3 separate regions of the Homo sapiens genome follow, and all the other regions are linked to region 2. Evidence: promoter capture Hi-C in human tissues and cell types (Jung and others, 2019). All regions are on one chromosome and are shown on one strand. The core of a region is centred on a gene start or on the middle of the fragment in contact, and the rest is flanking DNA. Distances in the headings are between cores, read along the strand shown.

Region 1 (3,078 bases), core at 551-3,050, 180 kb before region 2:
AATATCTAAACCACTGCTGTTAGTGTTTGGGTAGATATTGCCATTCTGTTTTATATAACCCTTTTACGGGGCGGGGGCTAACTGTCCTGTACAGTTAGGTTAAACCACACGAAATTGCTATTTTTGGCAAGCTCCAGTCAAATATCAGCAATTTCATATGTTTCAACCTAACCTATATCTAGATTTGTAGCTGCTTATATGATTTTCTATTATATTGTAAGCATTTCCCCCACACCCTTAAATATTTTTCCAAGACAGGATTCTTAATGGCAAATACTAACCTCTCACATGAACATCCACAGTTTAACCACCAATTGCTGCCAAATGTTTGTTCTTATAAATAATATTTGAAAACCCTCATATAAACCTGTTCGATTGTACGTTATACATGGGTATCCATTAGGTGTTCCTTTAGGGATTATTACTTCTGAGTCTTCCCTTACGATAAATTGCTAGAGGATAAATTACTATGTCAAAGGGATGAGTTACTACTTTTAAGAAAAAGGCCGAGCATGGTGGCTCACGCCTGTAATCCCAGCACTTTGGGAGCCCGAGGTAGGCAGATCCCTTGAGGTCAGGAGTTCCAGATCAGCCTGGCCAACATGGTGAAACCCCGTCTCTACTAAAAATACAAAAATTAGCCGGGCGTGGTGGCACATGCCTGTAATCCCAGCTACTAAGGAGGCTGAGGTGGGAGAATCGCTTGAACCCGGGAGTCGGAGGTTGCAATGAGCCAAGATCGTGCCACTGCACTCCAGCCTGGGTGACAGAGCAAGATTCCATCTCAAAAAAAAAAAAAAGAAAGAAAGAAAGAAAAAAAATTCCCTTCCAGCAGGAGCCACAATGATGACCTCACAATTTACGGGAAGTGGGAAGAGAAACAGGAAGGAAATACAGTAGGAAGATGCCAAGAGGGGTTGTGTGAGAGGTGGGGCGAGGAGTGATTTTTCCCTCTATTTTTATTACTCTCCAGATTTTCTGGAATGTGGTTAAATGCCATTCATGAATAGATAGTGTTCACTGTCTGGCAGTGGGGCTTTTGATGTAATCATCCCAAGGGAGAATTTGAGTCTTAAAATAGGAGAACTTAGAAGGCAGCACGTTAATTAGAGACCAGAGATAAAATTAAAATTTGATTGGGAATTTTAAGCAAAGCTTTCAAAACCTTTTTACTCTGAAGCTATTTCTTATGTAGGTGGGGACATGGTGTGGGAATGTGCTAATTCAACAGTGAGGTTCAGTGTCACGCCCGCCACTCCAGCCTTGGGTTTGGGCTTAAAGCGCATCTCCAGAGGCCAGGGCTGTGTGGGAGGCAGAGGTGGCTAGGCTGCTGTCCACTCTGAACAGGCCTTTGGTTGGGGCAGGGGCAGGAATGGGCCACGGGTTCTTCTCGGCTGCCCAGGTCAGGTGATGCCTATCCACCACCTGCCAGGGAGGTGTCTGCCCAGTCCACGCACAGAGACGGGCTGATGCCCAAGTGCTTACCTGGGCCAGTTGCTGCCCAGCTTCCACGGACACTTGCCGTTCCTCCTCACAGTCCATCTTGTTTCCCAGGAGAAGGATGACCACCCCATCCGACCCTGCATCCTGCACACAGAACATGTTCTGTCAGCCACACCCACTGTGTGCCAGGCTCCTGGCACATTTGCCTTCCTAGAAGCTGAACTGTGTCCCCCGCATGTTCCCCCTCCCAGGCCACATCCACTCCATAACCTTCTCACCTGGACCCTTTCCCCCATCCTTCCTCTCTGCTGATAAACATCTCACTTATTTTCCAAGGCCAACCTTAAGAACACCTCCCCCAGGAAGCCTTCCTGGGTTGTTCCTGCCCATGTCCTCTCTTCCTGCCTGTTCTGAACAGTCCAGCACTTGATTATACATTTTCCCAATTGTCTCATGAATAATAATAATAGTTTCTGATTAGTGAGTGATTGCTATACACCAGGTGCTGTGCTGAAAGCAATTCTATCAATTAATTGTCACAACTCCCCTATGAGAGAATTCCAGAAATTGAAGTTCAGAGAACTCAATTCACTTGTCCAAAGTCACAGAGTTCGGGTGGGTGGGATTCAAATGTAGGTCCTGTCAGACCCCAGTGCTCAGCTCCCCTCTTCACACATTACCTTATCCTGCTTCTTTTGCTAAACTAGAAACTTCCAGAGAGAAGGCAACATGGCTAACTTCACACCCCTCTGCTGTGCTAGTACACACTGCAGAATTTCAGTATATATGCTTTGAGGAAGTAAGCAGGGGAAAAACTAGAGATGTGTGAACAGAGGAATTACCACATGGAATGGCACAAGAACTACATTAGCCTCAAGTGTAAGAAGAAGACATTACAAACAGCTGCCATATGTAGGAAGAGAATGTTCACAGGATAAAGGAAGTAGTTTGGTTTGAAGTCTGTACTATGTGGTTGTGGTTTCTTTGTACTACTGCATTCCCAGCTCATCCAACCACATGCCCTCAGTGGGTGGTGTCACCCATATGTCTGTCATGTCATTTGTAATCCTGGGAGAAAAGAGGGAGTGGGCAGGATATAAGATCCCTCTTGACTGGAGGGACTGGGGCCAACCCCAGCAGCCATCTGCTCACCTGGAGACAGTCTAGCCAGTAGCGCACGTGGGCAAAGCTCTCCTGGGAGGTGATGTCGTACATGAGCACCACCCCGTCAGCCTTGCGGAGCAGCTGTCGCGTCATACTGTGGTACCTGCCCAGAGAGTCTGCATGAGGCCACACCAGGCATCCAGACCCCAGGCCCTGGCCTCTGCAAAGTGGGAGAAGTAACCTATCCTACTTCTAATTGCTTCCCACAGAGCATGTCCGTATGCTTTTCTTCGTACAGTGTAGTTATTGTTGACTAGGTAACAGTTCTCATGGCTCAAATTTCAAAAGGTCTCAAGGAGAACTCAATGAAAAGTCTCCTTCCTTCTGCCCCATCCTGGAGCCACCCAGTCCCCCTCCCCAGAGGCAACCAGGGTTATCAGTTTCTTAAATATTTTTCCAGAGGCATTTTACGTATATACATATATATACACACACATATATACACCCATACACATACATCTTTCCCCCTCT
Region 2 (3,108 bases), core at 68-2,567:
CATCTTGGACTATTATTAAAAGCTTAAGAATGGGTAGGACTTTGACAACAGGCATTTGGGGAGAAGGGCCTCTGGGCAGAGAGAATGAAAGGCGAAGTGATTGATTGATATGTATGTAGTGACTGATTGAGACAGGGTCTCCCTCCGTTGCCCAGGCTGGGGTGCAGTGTCATGATCATGGCTCATAGCAGCCCTGAACTCCTGGACTCAATCAATCCTCCTGCTTCAGCCTCCACAGTAGGTGGGACCACAGGCACTTGCCACCATGCTGGCCAATTACAAAAATTTTTTTAGAGGTGGATTCTCCTTATGTTGCCCAGACTGGTCTCAAACTCCTAGGCTCAAGCTATCCTCCCACCTGGACCTCCCAAAGTGCTGGAATTACAGGCAGGAGCCACCGCGCCTGGCGAGAAGTGATTTTTGTTAAGAGGCTAGACAAAAGGAAACTGGGCTTTGAAGATGAAATGAATGAATAACTCGCAGCACATGCTTCCTTCTCTCCCTAGATGGCCCCTTTGCAGGCAGTCAGGGACCATGTCTCGTTCATCTTAGTTTCCAGGAGCTTGACACTTTGTAGTTGAGGGCTTTGTGCTCCATTCTCAAGAAACGACAAGTGCCCAAAGGCTATTAAACTTGGGACCTCTTTACCCCCAAAAGTAGTACAGAATAAGAGTTGGGTGGCCTTGAAAAGCACCTTCTTCTGTCCACACTGGGTCGCCCGCTGGGTAACCTCCCAAACCTATGAGAGCTCACCTTATCCCAGGTAAGGTCCTTACTTTAAGGAAGAGGAGGGGGGCCAAGGGCTCCAGCAGACCTGTTCTACACGGGGTAGGGGGGTGGGTGGGAACTATACAGGTGACAACATTTCATAGAACTACACACACACTCACACACACGCACATGACTGCATACCCAACAGGTTAAATCCGAGTGTGGTCTGTAATGAAGTTAATTGTATTGGTTTAGTTAATTGTATTGGTTTAGTTAATTGTATTGTGCGAATGTCAATTTCCTGGCTTTGAGAATGTTGTATCTTAAGAAAAATGTTGAGGTAAGCTGGGTGGGTGATGGTATAGGGAACCTGTATGTATTAATTTTGCAACTTCTTGTGAGTCCATAATTATTTCGAAGTAAAAAGTAAAACAAAAGAAAACAATGGAACTTCCCCCTCAGCCCAGCCTACTTCGAGACCGCCTCACACTCACACATCTGGCCTCACCCAGGTCCAGCCAGCCCTAGGCAGGGGGTGAAGGGAGGGGCAGGGCGGGGCCACGCAAGCGCAGTTCCGCAATCCCGGCCGCTCCGGGAAGTCGCGCATGCGTAGTCTCGGCCCCGGGCTGCCGCGCCAGCCCGTCTCCGCGGCGGGGGACCGGGCTGCCTTGGCCCCTCAGCGCTCGCGTCTTTTCCGGCAGTTGGAACGCTTCCTGTTGTCCTCACCCGTAACCGCCTGTTGCCCCCTGTCTCAGAGTCCCTCACGCGTCCCCTCCCGTCTTTGGCTCGTTGGCTGCCGCCGCCGGGGCTTCGCCAGCCTTCAAGTCGAGACTACTGGCCGAAGGGGCGTCTGCGGCTCTCCGCCGTCCCCAGCCCTGCCTCTCCCTGGGCTCTGGTGAGTTGCTTGCTGCCGCCGTCTTCACTCCATCCCGGGGTTTTTCCTTTATCTCCTCCTTCCCCAACCTCCGACTCCTTCTTGGGCTTTCTCCTGCTCGCCGGCGCCCTCTTTCAAGCCCTAACCTCTCAGCCTCTTGGCCTCTCTCCGCCCCTCTCCTTAACCCCCTTCTTCCCCCGTCTCCAGATGCCCCTTGTTGGCCCTCTCCACATTTTTCCAGTCCCAGCCTTTCCACCCCATCCTTTATCTTTCTCCTTTTGCAGTTGGAGCGGGAGCCAGGCTTTCCTTTCCATGTTGCCACCTTTGTCTGCTCCCTGCCACCAGTCAGTCCCTCAGGGATCTCGGTCATCACCGGTTTTTATCTCCTTTTCCTTCTTCTGGGGTCTGTGAACTGTGGTCTGAGGCAGAGATGTCGAAAGCCCCCCTTGGGGTGTGGTATCTTTGAGTCGGCTCCTTTCTCCGTTAGTCTTAGGATACTGGGCTTCAGATAAGCTTCAAATCACAGGAAAAGGCAGGGAAAATTCTTAAGAAGAGAGTGGAAAAGCAACAGCCAGAGGAAAAAGTCGGTAAGGGCTTAGAGGAAAGTCTGTGTCAGAAAGCGGGCAGAACGGCCGGCAGAGAGACCAGATCTCTCAGTTCATTCTGAAACGACTAAAAGACTCGGAGAGAAACTTGTTCTGTTTGAAATGCACCGAGGAGGGTTGGAGTGAAGTAGACCCTGAGTGTCTCCACCCTTTGAGCTCACCCTGCCTCTGAATTAGCCAGGCAATATATTTGGTTTCCCTAAACATAAAACAACCACCACCTCGATAACAGGCTCTCCTCCCCACCCTAAACGTTAGATACCAGCTTCCTCCTAAGAGGAGAGAACGCTATAGCAAACCATTTCATGTCCCAGCCCTATCCCCCATCACACATAAACTCCTAGGAATGGACATCAAAAATGAGTATATTTCCTAGTTAATCTTTCTTAAGGTGCTAAGTGCATAGCACTGTGCATGAAATGGGGGAAGAATATTAAAACAAGTATAAGACATGGTGCTTGCTTTCTAGTGTAGGTAGAGATTACAGTTTAGTAGGATTTACAGTTCAGTGGGAGAGATTAGACATGCGACTTAAGCAATAATCTTAGCTCCAATGTTGAATCGTCCAAATGAAAGATAATGGATTGTCAGTCGCAAAGAAATAAAGTCCATATTGTTGAGAGAGGGTTGTTTATAGTGATCACAGAGTACCATTGTAAAGTCAGTCAGTTAGCCAGGCATAACCATATAGATTGAATCACATAATGGTTTTCATTTGACTTCCTTTTGAGTTTGCAGGCCTTACACCTGACTTTTATGAGGATCAGTTCCTTTTGTTAATTTTTTAAAACTTTGAAGAATTCCTCAGCCACCTATTATTTCCTAATTCTTCAGAGTTGAAGAATGAAACAAATGGGGCAAAGGCCTCCAATGGCTTCTAGGTCAGGGCAGGAAGGCTTGAATTGTGGAAAGCCTGAT
Region 3 (2,994 bases), core at 74-2,573, 220 kb after region 2:
AGCAGGTCACCTCCACACACAACACCTCAGCGAGCTCTAGGCAACCCCAATAAGCCCTTGATGGAAATTATGTTCCGGGATTTCCCAACCGTCAACATTTCTTGGCCGCCTCAACTTCTGCACCCTGGCAGGGAGGGGAGTAGTGTGTGCAAGAAGGAGCTGGAGCAGGGGAGGCAGGAGACCTGGGTTCTAGCATATTGTCTATGTCATTCCCCATCTTTGTGCCTCAATTTCTTCACCTGTAAAGTGAGACATTTCCCTGCTGCATATCTATAACACGATCAGTCCTCACAGCCATCAGATGAAGTGCAACTATTATCCCCACAGCCATCACATGGAGTACAACTATTATCCCCACCTTACAGATGAAGGACCTGAGGCTTTGGGAGGTAAAACAATGTGTTCAAGGCCACATGGCCCATGGATGATGGGGCCAGAGCTAGAGGCGGAAAGGATCAGACAAGTCATTTCTTCCTGGGCATCAGGGAGAACAGGTCATCCTGTTAGGTCATCCTGGCCAGGAGAATTTACATCTTAGAAAGGAGGGAGTGACGCTTAACACCAAAGAGGGGAATTTCAGGCCCATGGGGAGATATTTTCATGCAGGGGGATTCTGGCTATGATTCATTAATTCATGCCATGGGACCAGGCCTCTACTCTTCAACTTGTGGATCAAGTCAAAATGGTGGAGGGAGGAGAGGGCAGCAAAGCCCAGGAAAGCCAGTTCTATGGAAGCACAAAGGGATAAGGGAACTCGGTCTGGGCCAGTAAATCAGAGGCACAGCCCTGCCCAGCAGCTGTCTTCCAGCCCCATAAGTCCTTAATGTGATCCAGCCACGGAGCCCACTTTTAGTTTGTGCTAGCTTCTGTGCATAGTTAACAGCCCCAGACAGACAAAACACACCCTCGTTCTCCTTCTGCTTCTCAGGCTTGGAAGAACCTAAAGTCCAGGAGGCCCCATCTACAGAGGCTGGGGCTCCAGGTCCCTCCGTGCTTCCCACCCCATCAGAGAGCCAGGAACCTGGAGAGGAGCTTCCGCTGGACAGAGCCTCGGAATACAGTCAGTACTCCTCTCTTTTTCTCAGACACCCCTTGCAAAACTTCTGTTCTGACTCCCCCACTTGCAAAGAGACACTGAGCCAGAGAGAGGCAGTGACCTGTCCAGACCTCCCTCTGAGTACAGCAGGCTGGGGAGGCAGCTTGGGGCCCAGAGCCCAGGCCCAAGCCAGGCTGCCTGTCTGAACCTCGATAAATGGCGATAGTGTTGGTGCTTACCCTGATGAGGCAGACAGGAGGCAAAGGGAGGAAAGTGCTGGCCCACACCAAGGGCTCGGCCAATGGGGTGATCTTATGGACCTTGGTTTGAGTCTGGGCTGTGACCCCTTTGAGCTGTGTGGACTTGGGCAAGTTACTTCATCTCTGGTCTCAGTTTCTTCATCTGTGAAATGGGGGCAGCAAGTACCTGCTTTCTAGAATTGTCGGCAGCATTTAGGGCAGCCCCTGTTAGTGGCTAATATGTGTTAGGTGCCATTTGTTGCTATTATTGTCATTGTTGGGTGGCCCAGCTTGAGAGCAGAGCTCAGAAGTAAAAAGGATAGGGACAGGGGTAGGGGCCTTGGGAGGGAAGCTCAGCTAATGGCAGCTGCCATCGCTGTAATTATTATTTTACCATTGGCAGAGCCAGGCCTAGAAACATATATATATATATATATATATATATATATATATATATATATATATATATATATATATATATATATATATATAATATCACCGTCAGGTCTGAAAAGACCTGGAAAGATCTCTGCCCCCTATCCCCTGCCATTCTGCCTTGTTTGCTTTTCATAGAAAATATGCCTTGAAGGGAAATTCTGCCTGGACAGGGAGAAGGTGCAGGATGAGGGCACCTGTAGGGAATGGGCCTTTCCAGATGGCCCTGAGGGGCCTCCTCCTGGGTGTCTATTTAGAGGCCGTCATTGGTAAAGTGAATATGTATCCCATGAAACCAGCTCTGCCCTCAGGCCACCTCTGGCAGCTCTTTAGCCCCCTTGGAGAATCACCCAGGGAGCCACCGGGGCATTAGGAAATGAAGACTGACCGCAGAAGAGATTTCGTAGCACCAAAGTTAACCATGCGTGTTGATCTTTTTCAGAAGAATTCATTCAGAAGATCATTTCCATGCTCCAAGATGCAGAAGAACAGCAAGGAGAGGAGGTGAGGAAGACGCTCCCCATGTAACCCTGACCTCACTGTGGGCTCCCCAACCCTGCCTGGTGTAACAACTTCCCTGTCTCTGCTGCTCTTCTGTGTCCTGCTCCAGTCCCTCCTTTTTTTTTTTTTTTGGAGACGGAGTCTTGCTCTGTCGCCCAGGCTAAAGCACAGTGGCTCGATCATGGCCCACTACAACCTCCACCTCCTGGGCTCCAGCGATTCTCCTGCCTCAGCCTCCTGAGTAGCTGGGACTACAGGCATGCGCCACCACACCCGGCTAATTTTTGTATTTTCAGTAGAGACAGGGTTTTACCATATTGGCCAGGCTGGTCTCGAACTCCTGACCCCTGGTGATCCACCTGCCTCAGCCTCCCAAAGTACTTGGATTATAGGTGTAAGCCACTGCACCCGGACCCAGTCCCTCCTTCTTGAAGCTTCCCCAGCCCCCTCCAGACCACACATATTTCCCCAGCACTGAGCATCAACCACTCTTCTCTGGGCAACGCCTGCTAGCCCACCGTGGCTCTCTTTCCCCACCTCACCTGAGATCTCCTCAAGGTCAGGGGCCCTGACTCAGTTTCTCTCATCTCCCCCACAGCAACCTCAAGTCCAGCAGGAAGAGGTGGGTGTAGAAAACCCGGCCCCACACTGCAGAAGGAAATCTCAAGAAAAAAGGTCGAGCTTCAGGAGAGCGTTTTACCATAAGAAACACACCTCCAAGGAACCCAGAAGAGCGGGGGCAGCAGGGGCTGCCAGCCCAGAGGCCCGACGACCCAAGAGGCC

The links. Contacts are between HindIII fragments. The study calls those that stand out against the background at their distance.
Region 1: a fragment that was not itself captured here is called in contact with the fragment with the promoter of STK38 in region 2 in 1 of the 25 tissues and cell types used here (pancreas).
Region 3: a fragment that was not itself captured here is called in contact with the fragment with the promoter of STK38 in region 2 in 1 of the 25 tissues and cell types used here (mesenchymal stem cells).

Annotation. Positions count from the first base shown.
Region 1 is chr6:36,727,209-36,730,286 of GRCh38, reverse strand. RAB44 (RAB44, member RAS oncogene family) reads right to left here. Exons shown (of 14, transcript NM_001257357.2): 11 at 2,596-2,710; 12 at 1,486-1,587. Among named protein-coding and RNA genes, the nearest start is that of RAB44, 31 kb to the right of the region's middle. The HindIII fragment of the contact is 8,420 bases long and covers 1-3,078 here.
Region 2 is chr6:36,545,688-36,548,795 of GRCh38, reverse strand. STK38 (serine/threonine kinase 38) reads left to right here and starts at 1,317. Exons shown (of 14, transcript NM_007271.4): 1 at 1,317-1,606. RefSeq lists a silencer at 1,172-1,511 and an enhancer at 1,259-1,782. The HindIII fragment of the contact is 5,084 bases long and covers 1-3,108 here.
Region 3 is chr6:36,323,349-36,326,342 of GRCh38, reverse strand. BNIP5 (BCL2 interacting protein 5) reads left to right here. Exons shown (of 12, transcript NM_001010903.5): 6 at 929-1,060; 7 at 2,153-2,214; 8 at 2,810-2,994. Among named protein-coding and RNA genes, the nearest start is that of BNIP5, 12 kb to the left of the region's middle. The HindIII fragment of the contact is 8,343 bases long and covers 1-2,994 here.